Linked DNA regions of Homo sapiens: region 2 is linked to region 1. Evidence: promoter capture Hi-C in 16 types of primary human blood cells and fetal thymus (Javierre and others, 2016). All regions are on one chromosome and are shown on one strand. The core of a region is centred on a gene start or on the middle of the fragment in contact, and the rest is flanking DNA. Distances in the headings are between cores, read along the strand shown.

Evidence for each region. Contacts are between HindIII fragments. The CHiCAGO score rates a contact against its expected background, and 5 or more counts as called.
Region 2: a fragment that was not itself captured here is called in contact with the fragment with the promoter of MORC2-AS1 in region 1 in 1 of 17 cell types (endothelial precursors); the score reaches 5.0 in endothelial precursors.

What each region holds. Positions count from the first base shown.
Region 1 is chr22:30,919,553-30,926,372 of GRCh38, reverse strand. MORC2-AS1 (MORC2 antisense RNA 1) reads right to left here and starts at 4,065. Exons shown (of 2, transcript NR_026920.1): 1 at 3,858-4,065; 2 at 1-1,644. LOC107985544 (a long non-coding RNA gene) reads left to right here and starts at 4,594. Exons shown (of 3, transcript NR_146603.1): 1 at 4,594-4,785. MORC2 (MORC family CW-type zinc finger 2) reads left to right here. Exons shown (of 26, transcript NM_001303256.3): 26 at 1-1,243. The HindIII fragment of the contact is 12,308 bases long and covers 1-6,820 here.
Region 2 is chr22:30,764,669-30,771,488 of GRCh38, reverse strand. The region is part of intron 2 of OSBP2 (oxysterol binding protein 2); the gene reads right to left. Among named protein-coding and RNA genes, the nearest start is that of MIR3200, 37 kb to the right of the region's middle. The HindIII fragment of the contact is 5,811 bases long and covers 118-5,928 here.

The DNA.
Region 1 (6,820 bases), core at 2,816-5,315:
GAGGGAGACTTCCCCCTAGAGTGGTGGTCCTGCTGGGGGCTCATATCCAGGGACCCAAAAGGGGGGCTGTGTAGGAGGTTCCACATTGGAGGGGCTCTCTCTCTCGCAGCTGTCAGAGTTGGTCCTGGCTGTGGCGTCCAAACAGCTTGAGGGAAAAAGATCCTGTCTAACCACCTCATCTACTACTCAAGTTCTTTCTGAAGGAGGGATTTCTTCAGTTAACCATGGACAGTGAGGTTTCTCACCACAGTAACTTGAGTCCAGGTTGAGGGGGAGACAGATCTGTGGTAAATCTCTGACTTGGGCAGCACACTGAGTGTGGAACCCCACAGGACTCCTTAGGGAAGGAGCTTGTGTGTGAAAGAACCCCTGGGGCTGAGCTGGTGACCTCCATGTGTGGGTGCAGCAGGGCCTTGGATGGTGCCAATTGATCTGGACAGCCTGTTGATGCTTTTCTACTTCCACCCTTCGGCCTGGCCCCACTGAGCCCCATCAAGGTGCCTGAAGAGGGGGCCAGTGAGATCCCGTGGCCACAGGGACTCCAGAGGCATCTCTGCAGGAAGCACACCATGCCTTCCCTCCATGTTCCATCACGGCGCCACAATCTGTGTCCCTTAACTTCTCAGGGTCAAAGACAAAGGCAAGCGTTGCTGAATTTTCTCTTTAATGGCCATTGGAAGAGTCTGGTTCAGTTTTTCCCAACTCTCTTCCCACTCGTATTTGGGGCCTCTGGGTTTTCTGAAGGCACAAGGACTGTGACTTTGTACCACTAACCTGTGGTTCAAACCTGGGTGTGTTTCTGGCATCTCCCTAACCCAGATCAGCAATGGCCACCCTGCTCCTCTGAGGTCAGCAGAAGACTGGGAAGCAGAGGTGAGGGATGCAGGCCACACTGGAATGGGAAGTCTTTTCCCCACTGGATGTGCCTGTCTGGTGGGTTTTGGACCTTCCCAGACTACATCTCTAGGAGAGGCCTGTTTGGAGTAGTACACTGAGAGACCCTGGCCTCTTCTGCTGGAAGACTGTCCAAGTCTTGGGGTTTCTTGAGCTGGTGATTCCTCTGCCATCCTGCTCTCTCTCTTCATCTCAGGCAGCATGGGGTCCACTTTTGTCCCCAAACCTAATGTTTTAATCCAAATGCAAATTGGTTCCACATTTTTACTGGAGGGTAATCAGTTTTTAAAATTCACACACATGTAATCGAAACGCAATACTATAAAGTTCTACTGGTGAGACTCCTGAACTCAGTCTGTTTTCTTAGTAAAATCCAGCACCTTCCTTCTCTTCATTCTTTGTATCACTGTGGCTTTAAACTGTCTTCAAGTTATTCCTCCTCATCACCTCCATTGTTTTATCTTCACCCCCTTAACATCCACAGAAACAGACTGGAGTTCTTGAATGTTTTAGCTTCAACTTCTACATGTGCCCACTTTGCTTTGTTAATGCTACCACAGCTGTGCTGAATGAAGCCTGTTTCCCAGGCAGAGATCCTGCCACTCTGGATGGGAAGATAAAATGCAGGGGTCCTCTTTCCTGGTTTCCTGGGAACATCAAGGGACAGGTGACCAGCTTGGAACTCTTTGATGACTTGGAAGGAGGAAGATGGTCTGGCTGATCTGTGGTGAGAAGGTCCTTTGCACAAGGCTGCAAGAAAGTGAAGGGCAGCAATGCTGGTGTTTAAAGAACGAGAGGGGTGGGGACTCTAGGGTGTTTTGTTTGAGATGGGGGTCTCGCCCTGGTCACCTAGGCTGGAGTGCAGTGGCACGATCTTGGCTCACTGATACATCTGCCTTCCAGGCTCAAGTGATCTCCCACCTTAGCCTCCCAGGTAGCTGGAACCACAGGCACACACCATCATGCCTGGCGAATTTTTTTTGTATTTTTGGTAGAGTTTCGTCATGTTGCTTAGGATGGTCTCAAACTCCTGAGCTCAAGTGATCCACCTGCCTCGGCCTCCCAGAGTGCTGGGATTACAGTGTGAGCCACCATGCCTCACCTAGGGTGTTTGGTTTTTAAGTGAAACATGCACATGGTAAACATTAAAACCGTCTAAAAGGCTGGACCATGAAAAGCAAGGCTCCCTTCTCCCACCCAATCCCTGAATTCTCCCTGGAGAGTATCCCTCCTAAGTGCACGCACTTCCACTCTGTTCCATTTCTGCCTGTTAAAACTACTTAGTGCAGCTTAGTGTAGTGGAACCTGCTTCAGAATAACCCATATGGGTCTTCTTTATTCTCATGAACCACAGAGCATTTCATGTGTTGGATATATTGTCTCCTACTTACGGACATTTGGGGTTGTTTCTGTTTTTGTTTGTTTTGTGACGGACTCTTGCTCTGTCACCCAGGCTGGAGTGCAGTGGCACAGTCTCGGCTCATTGCAACCTTCACCTCCTGGGTTCCAGCGATTCTCCCCTCTCAGCCTCCCAAGTAGCTGGGACTACAGGTGCGTGCCACCATGCCCAGCTAATTTTTGTATTTTTTGGTAAAGACAGGGTTTCACCATGTTGGCCAGGCTGGTCTCAAACTCCTGATCTCAAGTGATTTGCCCGCCTTGGCTGGGATTACAGGCATGAGCCACTGCACCCGGCCAGTCACCATTTTCATCCGGTAACTTGCAATGCACCAGGCCTTACCAGGGCCACTGTTGGGTTCAGCGGACATTTCCTTCTTCAAGCTGGCAAGGCCTCAGACAAGTCACTGCCCATTTTGGCTCCTGTTCCTCCTCTAAAATAACGGAGTTGGGTGATGGCAGAGGCTTTCCAGCTTATTCAGCCTCAGGAGTACCTAAAATTTATCCAGAAGCCCATATGGAAAGCCAGGAGTCCTGGAGCTGCTCTGGTTGAAGCTAGGATGGGGGCCCAGAGCTCCCTGCTGTTCTTGACCCCCAAATCTTTGCTTCCAAGATTCACTGGCCCCTACCTGCTACCTGTAGGCCTTCACCTGCTTACTTGTGTCCGATGTAGGGATTATGGGCTTACTCAGCAGCCATCCTCATGGCCTAAACATTTGGCCAATTTCAGTGTCCCCGAAGGGTGAAGGAGGTCTGGGCTTCCATGGGGCCTGAACTGCAGGTACCTTCAGCACTTCCTGGGGTTCTGGACATGTCAACAGCTGCCCACCAAGGCCTGGAAGATAAGGAGGGCTCACACCACTAGTGCAAACTTGGATCAATGAGAAGGGAAGGATGCGACAGACGTATCCCTCCTCTTTTCTTGTCCCCTCTGGATTCTGTTGAGATGCTTCCAGGGATTCTCCGAGGCCCCTTCCTGCTCCAGTAACTGCAGGTTACTGGGGAAGCTGTGGCCAGCTCTAATCCCCTACTTTTTTTTTTTTTTTTTTTTGAGACAGTCTCGCTCTGTAGCCCAGGCTGGAGTGCAGTGGCGCCATCTTGCCTCATTGCAACCTCTGCCTCCAGGGTTCAAGCGATTCTCCTGCCTCAGCCTCTCTAGTAGCTGGAATTACAGGCGCGCGCCACCACGCCCGGCTAATTTTCGTATTTTTAGTAGAGATGGGGTTTCGCCATGTTGGCCAGGCTGGTCTAGAACTCCCAGTCTCGAGAGATCCATCTGCCTCAGCCTCCCAAAGGGCTGGGATTACAGACGTGAGCCACAGCGCCCGGCCTAATCCCCTACTTTGATTTACTGTCCCTCCCCACATCATTTCTTCCCTTATTGAAAGCTCTGGGTCCTCCCCAATGCCCCACCATGTAAACCAATCTGTCCTGCTGGGTTTGGGGCACCGCGGTGGGCAGGGGAGAACCCGTTTGTCAGAAGGTTCAGAGTTTCTGAGTTCCTCATGCTTAATCATCAGCGGCCACAGCACAACAGTGGCCGAGGGTGGGTTGTAAATTCTCACCTGGCCTAGAGGACGCAGCCACGACCCCAGCGCTTGGCCATCTCTGTAGAGGATTCGCGGGTGGACCATGCTTAGTCTAACAGGGTATGGTTATTAACGCCCGTTATGAACGGTTCATAACCAGCCAACGGTTATGAACTGTGGAGGGCTTCCGCAATCCCGCCACACGCTCGAGGCGGAAGCGACAAGACGCCTGCGTGGTTTTGCTGGCGCGCCGCACGTGCCCGTACCGTGACCTGCGCATGCGCTTTGGAAGCCTCGCGAGCTTCCTGCGGCACTCAGGGTTTGGTGCAGGTGCCTGTGGCCTTTGGGGGTTTCCTCGCGTCTTTTAGGTAGATGCTTCCAGGGATTCTCCGAGGCCTCTTCCTACTCCAGTAACTGCAGGTTTCTGGGGAAGCCGTGGCCAGCTCTAATCCCCTACTTTTTTTTTTTTTTTTTTTTTGAGACAGTTTCGCTCTGTCGCCCAGGCTGGAGTGCAGTGGCGCCATCTCGCCTCACTGCAACCTCCGCCTCCAGGGTTCAAGCGATTCTCCTGCCTCAGCGTCTCTAGTAGCTCCTTACAGGGAGAGCAATGGCCCACTCACACCCGAAACAGAGAAGCGAGGATTTTTTTTTTTTCCTGCAAGCTGCTGCGCATTAATTAAGTCAAAGTGCAGAAGAAATCTTTTCTACCCCGGCTTTCCAACTTTCCGGGGGTCATTAGGGAAAAACATTCGTTGAACAGATGTCCTTAGGGTCGGCGCTTTTATCTCTGAAAGGAAGAACACTTGGAAAGGAAGCTGCGTGTTTTTCCTCTTGCCCGGAAGAGCCAGCCTGTATGTCTCCCTTTTGACCCGAGGCCAAGCGCCTGAAGCCTCTTGGACTTAGTTAACATTAGTCCGTTTTCTATGCGTTTGTCCTTGGCTTGGTTTATGGTGTTTGTTGAAAGGTAAATGTTTTAAAGTTTTGGGGATTCCTATCATGCTTAGGGAAATCAATCCCCTTCTCTCTTCTCCCCTTCCCCCGATATTCTCTTACATTTTGTTGCAATGTTTATTATTTATTTTTTACTAGACAACCTATAGTCCTTATGGAATATATTTTAGTATAAGCTGTAAGGCAAGAGTCAAGCGTCTCCCGCCCCCAGGTGGAAATTAACTTATTCCAGCCCCACTTATTAAATGAGCCTCTTACTAAATGAGCCAACAGGTGTGGACCTGTTGAGTTTGAGATCCCGCTTAGACGCCAGTGGAGACATCTGTGGTCAGTTGCACAAGTGAGTCTGATGTGAGGGGTGAGGTTCTGGCTGAAACTATAATTTTGGGCGTCATCAGCATCTAAATAGATCAGTCTCCCTCACTTGTTAAAAAATGCTTTTCCAGTCTTAGAATGTATTCTCTCACATGAAATATTTAATCGCATTATCCAGTTCGTTCCCATCCCTGCCTAAAAGAAAGTGTTCCATTGGGATTTAAATTATAATTGCATTAAATTTAAATGGAAGTTTTGGGAGCATTGACATTTTTGTGATATTAATCCTCCCCCAGAGGATAAAAAATGGCTTTCCATTTACTCAAGACTTCTTTTAGGTCCTCCAATAAGATTTTATAAATTCTTTATACGGGTTCTATAACTTTCTGGTTAAAATTATTCCTAAGTGTTTTATGGTTTTTGTCTATTGTGATGGAATACTTTTTTCCATCTGTATTACTCATTGATTATTAATATGTAGAAAAGCTAATGATTTAATATAATTCACTTTCTGTCTTAGGAATTCTGGTAGTTTTAATAAGCCTGTTTTTTATAGATACAAATTTGCCAGTATACCAATTTATTTTGTCAGTTTGCTTTAGTTAGAACCTCTGAAACAATGTTGAATAATGATCCCGGGCTGTTTCTGATATGCGTGGAAATCCGCATGTGAGAGTTGAGCGGTGAGAGTTTCGGCAAGTGGCTTTTAAAATGTTGGGGTTTCCTTTAGTTTGTCTTGCGGCTGCTGGGACTCACCGGTAGTTGCCAGTCCTGCCTGAGTTGGGCGCCAGGGGGCAGCAGTCACACAGAATGAAACGTGGGCTGTGCCCCCTGGAAACTGGCTGAATTTTGTCAAATGCCTTTACACCTTCTATAAAAAAAAAAAAAACATAGAGTTTTCTCCTTTATGCTGCTGTTTTTATTTTCAATTAGACATTGAGTAGCTATGAAAGAATGCTGTATAAAATATTTGTAAAGGAGGCCTGAAGCGGTGGCTCACGCCTGTAATTCCAACACTTTGGGAGGCCAAGGTGGGCAGATTGCTTGAGCCCAGGAGTTGGAGACCAGCCTGGGCAACATAGCAAGACGCCATCTCCACATTAAATACAAAAATTAGCTGGGTTTGTGCTGAGGCCGAGGTGGGAGAATCGCTTGAGCCCGGGAGGTGGAGGCTGCAATGAGCTATGATCGTGCCACTGTACTCTAGCCTGGGTGACAGAGTGAGAAACTGTCTTTAAAAAAAAAAAAATTATAAAGCAGAAAAAGTATACATCAAACACCCATCACCTGGCTTGTTATATTATAAATCCCTGTGTGTCTTTCCTGGACCCCTTGTCTCCCTGCTCAGAGGTCACCATCATCCTGAATTGTGTTTATTACTCTTAGTATTTCATTTTATAATTATGTTTCTTTACTCTTCATTATATTTTTATGAGCTCTGTGTATTCCTGTTTTATTTTGCCCTAAGTGTTTTATTTTGCTTTGTTTTTGAACTTAGATGGACATAACGTTTTATTGTTTTGCGGTTTTCTTTTTTTTTATTTTCAACATTGTGTTCCAGAAAATCATCCATGTTGTTGGATGTAACTGTAATTTATTCATTTTCACTACTGTATAGTATTCTGGATGTTAACCTAAATAACAATAAAGAGAGGTTCTCAAAAGAAAATATACTTATTTAGGAACAAAGCATTGCAAATTTATGTATATATGTCTTTTCTTTTAGAGAGCCT
Region 2 (6,820 bases), core at 1,774-4,273, 150 kb after region 1:
ATGGGCAGGGGCCGCCACTGTGCTGCCAAGAGCCAGCCTCCACTGGACTCAGCCCTTCCTGTGCTCATCAGGCCCTCCCCAGCACCCCAGGTTGCCCCTCTGGAGCCTCTGGAAGCTTCTATGATTCCTGCCTGTGCCCTCAGCAACTTGCCTTGTCTTCCAAAGTTTCTCTTCCACAATCTATGGTTGTCATGCCTGCCTGTCAGCCTGGCCTCCCTCCAGAGGAGGGTCTGAGCCCACCATGGTTCCTTGGCCTGGGCTAGACACAGGTAAGGGGGCAGCCTCAGTGGACATGGAGCCCAAACGACTTTTGCCTGCCCTCCTGCCGATGGCAGGGAGAGGACTAGAGGTGGTCATGGAAGGCTTCTTGGAAGAGACCAAGTCTCAGGAAGAGCCAGCAACGGGGACAGGATTTAAGGCTTCCTCGCTATATATACTTTGGTGGCCCCTCAGGCATGACCTTGCCCTGCTTTGACTTGGGAAGCTGAGGCAGGAGAATCGCTTGAACCTGGAAGGCGGCAAGTTGCAATGAGCCGAGATGACTCAAGCAGCCGCAATGACCATGCTGGATCGGGCCAGGGCAGGGTACCTGCTCTGAGCTGTGCCAGAGCCTCTTACCTAAGAATTTGAAGCTGGAGCCAGAGATGGCAGCCACAAAGCCAGGCAAGAGCCAGGGCAGGCCAGGCCCACCTACAGAACGAAATTATGGAGGAACAAAGAAACCAGGCTACAGAGGGAAAGGACACAGAGGGGACACCGGGAGAGAACCAGAAATGGGGGTGTCAGAGAGAGCAGCTGTGGACACACCTCTCCCCTTGGATGCTCCACTTCCTGCACCCTGAGCACAGGCCCCACTTGTGTTTCAGCCAGTCTCAGCGGGGTTTTGTTCCCTGCCACCAGTTGACCCTGGATAGAAAACCATGAAAAAATAATTTTTAAAAAACTAATTAGTAAAACAGATCCCTGTATGTATTAGTCTATTCTCATCTTGCTAATAAGGAGACACCTGAGACTGGGTAATTTATAAAGGCAAGAAGTTTAATGGACTCACAGTTCCACATGGCTGTGGAGGCCTCACAATCATGGTGGAAGGCAGCCAGCCCGGTGTCTCATGCCAGTAATCCCAGCACTTTGGGAGGCCGAGATGGGCAGATCACTTGAGGTCAGGAGTTCGTCAGCCTGGCCAACATGGTGAACCCTGTCTCTACTAAAAATACAAAAATTAGCCAGGCATGGTGGCACACACCTGTAATCCCAGCTACTCAGGAGGCTAAGGCATGAGAATTGCTTGAACCTGGGAGGCGGAGGTTGCAGTGAGCTGAGATTGCACCACTGTACTCCAGCCTGGGCAACAGAGCGAGACTCCATCTCAAAAAAAAAAAAAAAAAAAATCATGGGGGAAGGTTAATGAGGAACAAATTCACATCGTACATGGCAGCAGGCAAGAGAGCACGTGCAGGGGAACTCCCCTTTATAAACCATCAGATCTTGTGAGACTTATTCACTACCATGAGAACAGTATGGGGGAAACCACCCCATGATTCAATTATCTCCACCTGGCCCCACCCTCAACACGTGGCAATTATTACAATTCAAGGTGAGATTTGGGTGAGACACAGCCAAACCATATCACTGTCTATGGAGGTATATCCAGTGTGGGTAGAAGACATCCCACATGCATGAGACCATCACACACAGATCTGTTGTCAACTAAGGACCTGAGCTGAAGAGCCTGGAATGGTAGTGATGACGACTGGCATTTGGAAGCTGTTCCACGTGCTTCCCTCTCACCTAGACTGTTTTGTATTATTTAATTTAATTTAACATTTTTTTTGTTTTTGAGATGGAGTCTCTCTCTGTTTCCCAGGCTGGAATGTAGTGGCGCAATCTCCGCTCACTGCAACCTCTGCCTCCCAGGTTCAAGTGATTCTCCTGCCTCAGCCTCCCGAGTAGCTGGGACTACAGGTGCGTGCCACCACACCCAGCTAATTTTTGTATTTTTAGTAGAGACCGGGTTTTGCCATGTTGGCCAGGCTGGTCTCAAACTCCTGACCTCAGTGATCTGCTCTTCTTAGCCTCCGAAAGTGCTGGGAATACAGATGTGAGCCACTGTGCCCAGCCTAATTTAAAAAGTATTATTGTTGTTGTTATTTACCCTCACAACCATCTCTTTATGTAGACATTATTTGTCCCTGTGATGGGCAAAGAAATTGGAGCTTAGAGAGGGAGAGGGCCTTGTCCAAAGTTCACACAGTGACTCAACAGCAACGCCAGAATCCCAAATTTTGTGTCCCTTTTATTAAGCCATACTTGTTCATACCACCAGGCATGGTACTGTGATTCAGCAAACTGACCGAGGGGCCCCCTCAGAGCCCAGCTTTCTAGTTCCGTAGCCCAGAATACTCAGCCTCAACCTTTCCATGACCATCTCCAGTCAAAGCTCAAACTGGCAAACTGAAATGCAGGGGGTACCCCAGGGAAACGTCACAGTCCTGCCAGCCTCAGGTTTAGGTCAGGCATCCGGTCTGGACCCCGGGGCCCTCCACCTCTGGATTAGTGACATCCTGAGTTGACAGCCTTGCCTGCATCAGAGTCCGGTGCTCATGCCTACAGATCCACGTGAAGGTTAACACCTAAACAGTAACAAAGAATAAACTCCAATCTGATAATTACAAACGAAAGTGCTATTATGCCCTCTAGTTACAAAGGAAACAATTAGCAATCAAGGTAATTGCCCTAGCAGGAAAATGATGCTTAAACTACCTTAATGGCAATAATGCTCTTGGTTTTTGTTTTTGTTTTTTTTTTTGAGATGGAGTTTCTCGCTCTTGTCCCCCAGGCTGGAGTGCAATGGTGTGATCTTGGCTCACTGCAATCTGGGCCTCCCGGGTTCAAGCGATTCTCCTGCCTCAGCCTCCCGAGTAGGTGGGACTACAGGCATATGCCACCATGCCCAGATAACTTTTATAGTTTTAGTAGAGACGGGGTTTCGCCATGTTGATCAGGCTGGTCTCAAACTCCTGACCTCAGGTGATCTGCCCGCCTCGGCCTCCCAAAGTGCTAGGATTATAGGTATGAGCCACCATGCCTGGCCACAGGAATGTTTTAAACTAGACAACCACTTTTGTTATGCTCTGACCTCTTCATAAGAAGAACCCCCACCCCCAGAGGCGTATTACATAACGCCTACTTCTCTACTGAAATAAGGTGGCCACTTCTGGGCTGGCTCCTGGGCTTGGGTGGCAGGCTAAAGTCCCATGAGGAGGGGCTCAGAACAAATGCTGTCACCCCCAGGGTGAAAATCCAACTCAGTTTCTCTGAGAACTGAACACCAATCTCCTTTGAGCTCTGCACATGCATTCAAACTCACGAGTGACCCATTCACCCTGGGCCTCTTTCAGTTAGCACTGATTTATACAGGTCTCTCAGGGGTAAGCCGCAGCCATCTGTATGGGTCATAGGGTCACATCTAAATCCAAATTGTTCACACCTCCTAAAGAATAAGACCATCATTTTCCTATGCTACTTTCTGGTGGCTCCTTCTTCTCCTAATGTGGATACCTGGGAACTGACTGTGCTCTCACTAGCAACTCCCCAACCCACGCCCCTCACCCTTTACCCTGCAGGGCCCGTGATGAGGCCAAGGGTCAGAAGACACATCTTGCCAACGCCCAGCCCTCCTTCCTTGAGAAGGGCCCGGATCCTCTCCCAACTGAGAGCTGTTAACCTCTCTTTGGTTTCTCTGAACTGAACAGAGCCCAGCTTGGCTGCTGGAAGCACATGTGCGGCCCCTTTCTCAGCCCTCTGCATTCCCTTTTCTACTTCCTGCAAACTCTCTAAGACAGGGAGAGGACTGGCTCCTTTAAATAAACTTCATTCCAACCCACTGTTAATTTGTTAGATATGATCATAGCACTTTGGTTATGTTAAAAAAAAAAAAAAAGGAATTCTGATCTTTTAAAGATACATCCAGACATGTTAACAAATGGGATGCTATGACCTCTGCAATGGGCTTCAAAATGATAGAGACAGAGGAAGAGGATGGAGGCATAGAGACAAGGCTGGCCATGAGCTGGTAGCTGGTAACTGTGGCATCTGGGTGACAGGTATGTGACGATTCCTGAGAGTCTTCTGTTCACTTCTGTTTATTTTGTATAACAACATTTTTTTTTTTTAAGAGAGAGAAAGTCTTGCTCTGTTGCCCAGGCTGGAGTGCAGTGGCGTGACCTTAGCTCACTGAAACCTTTGCCTCCCAGGCTCAAGCAATTCTCCTGGCTCAGCCTCCAGAGTGCCTGGGATTTCAGGTGCGTGCCACAACGCCCGGCTAATTTTTTTTTTTTTTTTTTTTTTGTATTTTTAGTAGAGATGGGATTTCACCGTGTTGGCCAGGCTGATAACAACAGTTAAAAAAAAAAAAAATTAAATCCCATCCCAGAGCTTTTTTTGTAGCATCCTTAAGCCCAACTGTTCTGAGGTTTTTACCTGCACCTCTGTCAATCAACACGTTTACGGAGCAGCAACTATATCCAAGGTGCTGCTAAAGCTGCAAAGAGTGAGCCACTTGGCCCTGACTGCAGTGCGCCCTCAGGATGCACCTCTGTCCTTGACCTGCAGAGTCCTGTCCTCTATTTTATCACAATCCCCCAAAACCTCATTTCCCAGACTGAGCACTGGTTTTTCTCTCTCCCAAAACCAAGATGGGCAGTCAGGTACTCCCCTTCCTGGCCATATGGAAGAGACTGAGTCTAGCTTCCTGTCCCGGCGTCATGGAGGGGAAACATGGACTCCCTCGCTCCTCCCTCAGTCTCACTGGATGAAATGGCCCAGGTGTGAGTCAGGGCAGAGAAGAGTTTGAAGGGAAGAGAGTCTGACCATCTGCTTTTTGGAGGGTTTAGGTGAGGTCAACCAGGCCAAGAGCGTGGAGGGAGGCACTGGCACTACACGGGCTCCAGGCCTGAATGCCTGGACACTGCCAAATGCAAAGGGCTCAAAACTTCAAGAGCACAGAGGCAAGACGACAACTAAAAACCCTATGAACTAGCCTAGATATGTTTATTTGTTCAAAAAGCTGTGTGGTATTATTGGGAAAGCCTAAAGTCATAGCCAGGGAGGAAGGAATTTGCACCTTGAGCTGCTGAGAGATCAAGGAGGCATGGCTGTCCCGCCAGGTACCATTCAATGTTCATTCCAGGCCACCAGAGAAACAGAAACTAGTCCCTTCCATGAGCCATACCCTTCACTACTACCAGTTTTTTGTTTTTGTTTTTAGAGAAAGGGTCTTGCTCTGTCACCCAGGCATGATCATAGTTCACTGAAGCCTTGACCTCCTGGGCTCAAGTGATCGCCCCACCTCAGTCTCTTGAGTAGGTAGGACTATAGGTGTGTGCTACCACACCCAGTTACTATTATTACTTTTTTTGAAAGATGGGGTCTTGATATGTTGCCCAGGCTGCTCTCCACTCCTGGCCTCAAGCGATCCTCCCACTACAGCCTCCCAAAATGCTGGGATTACAGGCATGAACTGCCATGCCTGGCTCCACTATCAGTTTTAATGACCAATAATTCACGCTTATATTCCATTTTCTCAGTTGGGGTGAGAACCATGAAGAGAAAGTCTCTGATGAAGAAAGGGTATAGCACTCCTGATATAGACAGAAGTGGTTTTCTTAGGTAGAGAGAGGGGCTGCACCTAGGCCTAGAAGGCAGGGGCCAAAAACTCAGATACAATGCACTTGATGAACAATAAGGCCCTACACCATCACTTTTGTCTTCCTGGATCCAGCACATTAAATAAATATGTGGAGTAAAGCTGAATTAAACCTCCCTCCAAGAAAAACATGGAATTTGGAGATGGGGGAAGAGAGATAGCAGCAATAAGCAATCCAGGGAGTCTGACAGAGCGGACTGTGCTTCTCAAAGTGAGAAGCTTGGAGGGCTGGCAGGAGCCCTGTGTAGAATGTTTATTATAAAAATGGGGGAAGGTAGGGAGTGGTTGCTCACGCCTGTAATTCTAGCAGTTTGGGAGGCGGAGGTGGGCAGATCACTTGAGGTCAGGAGTTCAAGACCAGCCTGGACAACATGGTGAAACCCATCTCTACTAAAAACACAAAAATTAGCCAGGCATGGTGGCACAAGCCTGTAATCCCAGCTACTGGGGAGGCTGAGGCAGGAGAATCGTCTGAACCCGGGAGGTGGAGGTTGCAGTGAGCTGAGATCGTACCACTGCACTCCAGCCTGGGCAACAGAGCAAGACTCCATTTCAAAAATAAATAAATAAAAATAAAAAATAAAAATGGGGGAGGGCCGGGTGTCTCACACCTGTAATCCAGCACTTTGGGAGGCCGAGGCAGGAAAATTGCCTGAGCCCAGCAGTTTGAGACCAGCATGGGCAACACGGTGAGGCCCTGTCTCTATAAAAAAAATTTAAATTAAATTAAAACAAATAAAAATTAAAATGGGGGTCCCTAGGTGCCATATGACCATCGGATCTGAATCTCAGTGGTCCTGCCCTAGGAATCTGCAGTTTTAACATGCTCCCCCAGGAAGACTTCATGTCCCTCAAAGTAAGAGAGAAGTTATTCAGTTTTCTTTTCTTGTGTTGTTTAATCCATACCAGTCAAATTTTCACTCAAGTGAGTTCATAAGAGAGTTCTTTATACTGTCTGGCCAGCTGGGAGGATGGGGCTTCTCTCCTCCTCAGGACTGAGGGGTCTGAGGGTCAATAGCTTGAATGCACCTATATTTTCCCTTTGTTCTAAGGAGAGCATAACCCTGTTCCCATCCATCTTCTTAGGGAGTGAGGACAGAGGCAGTGGCCACA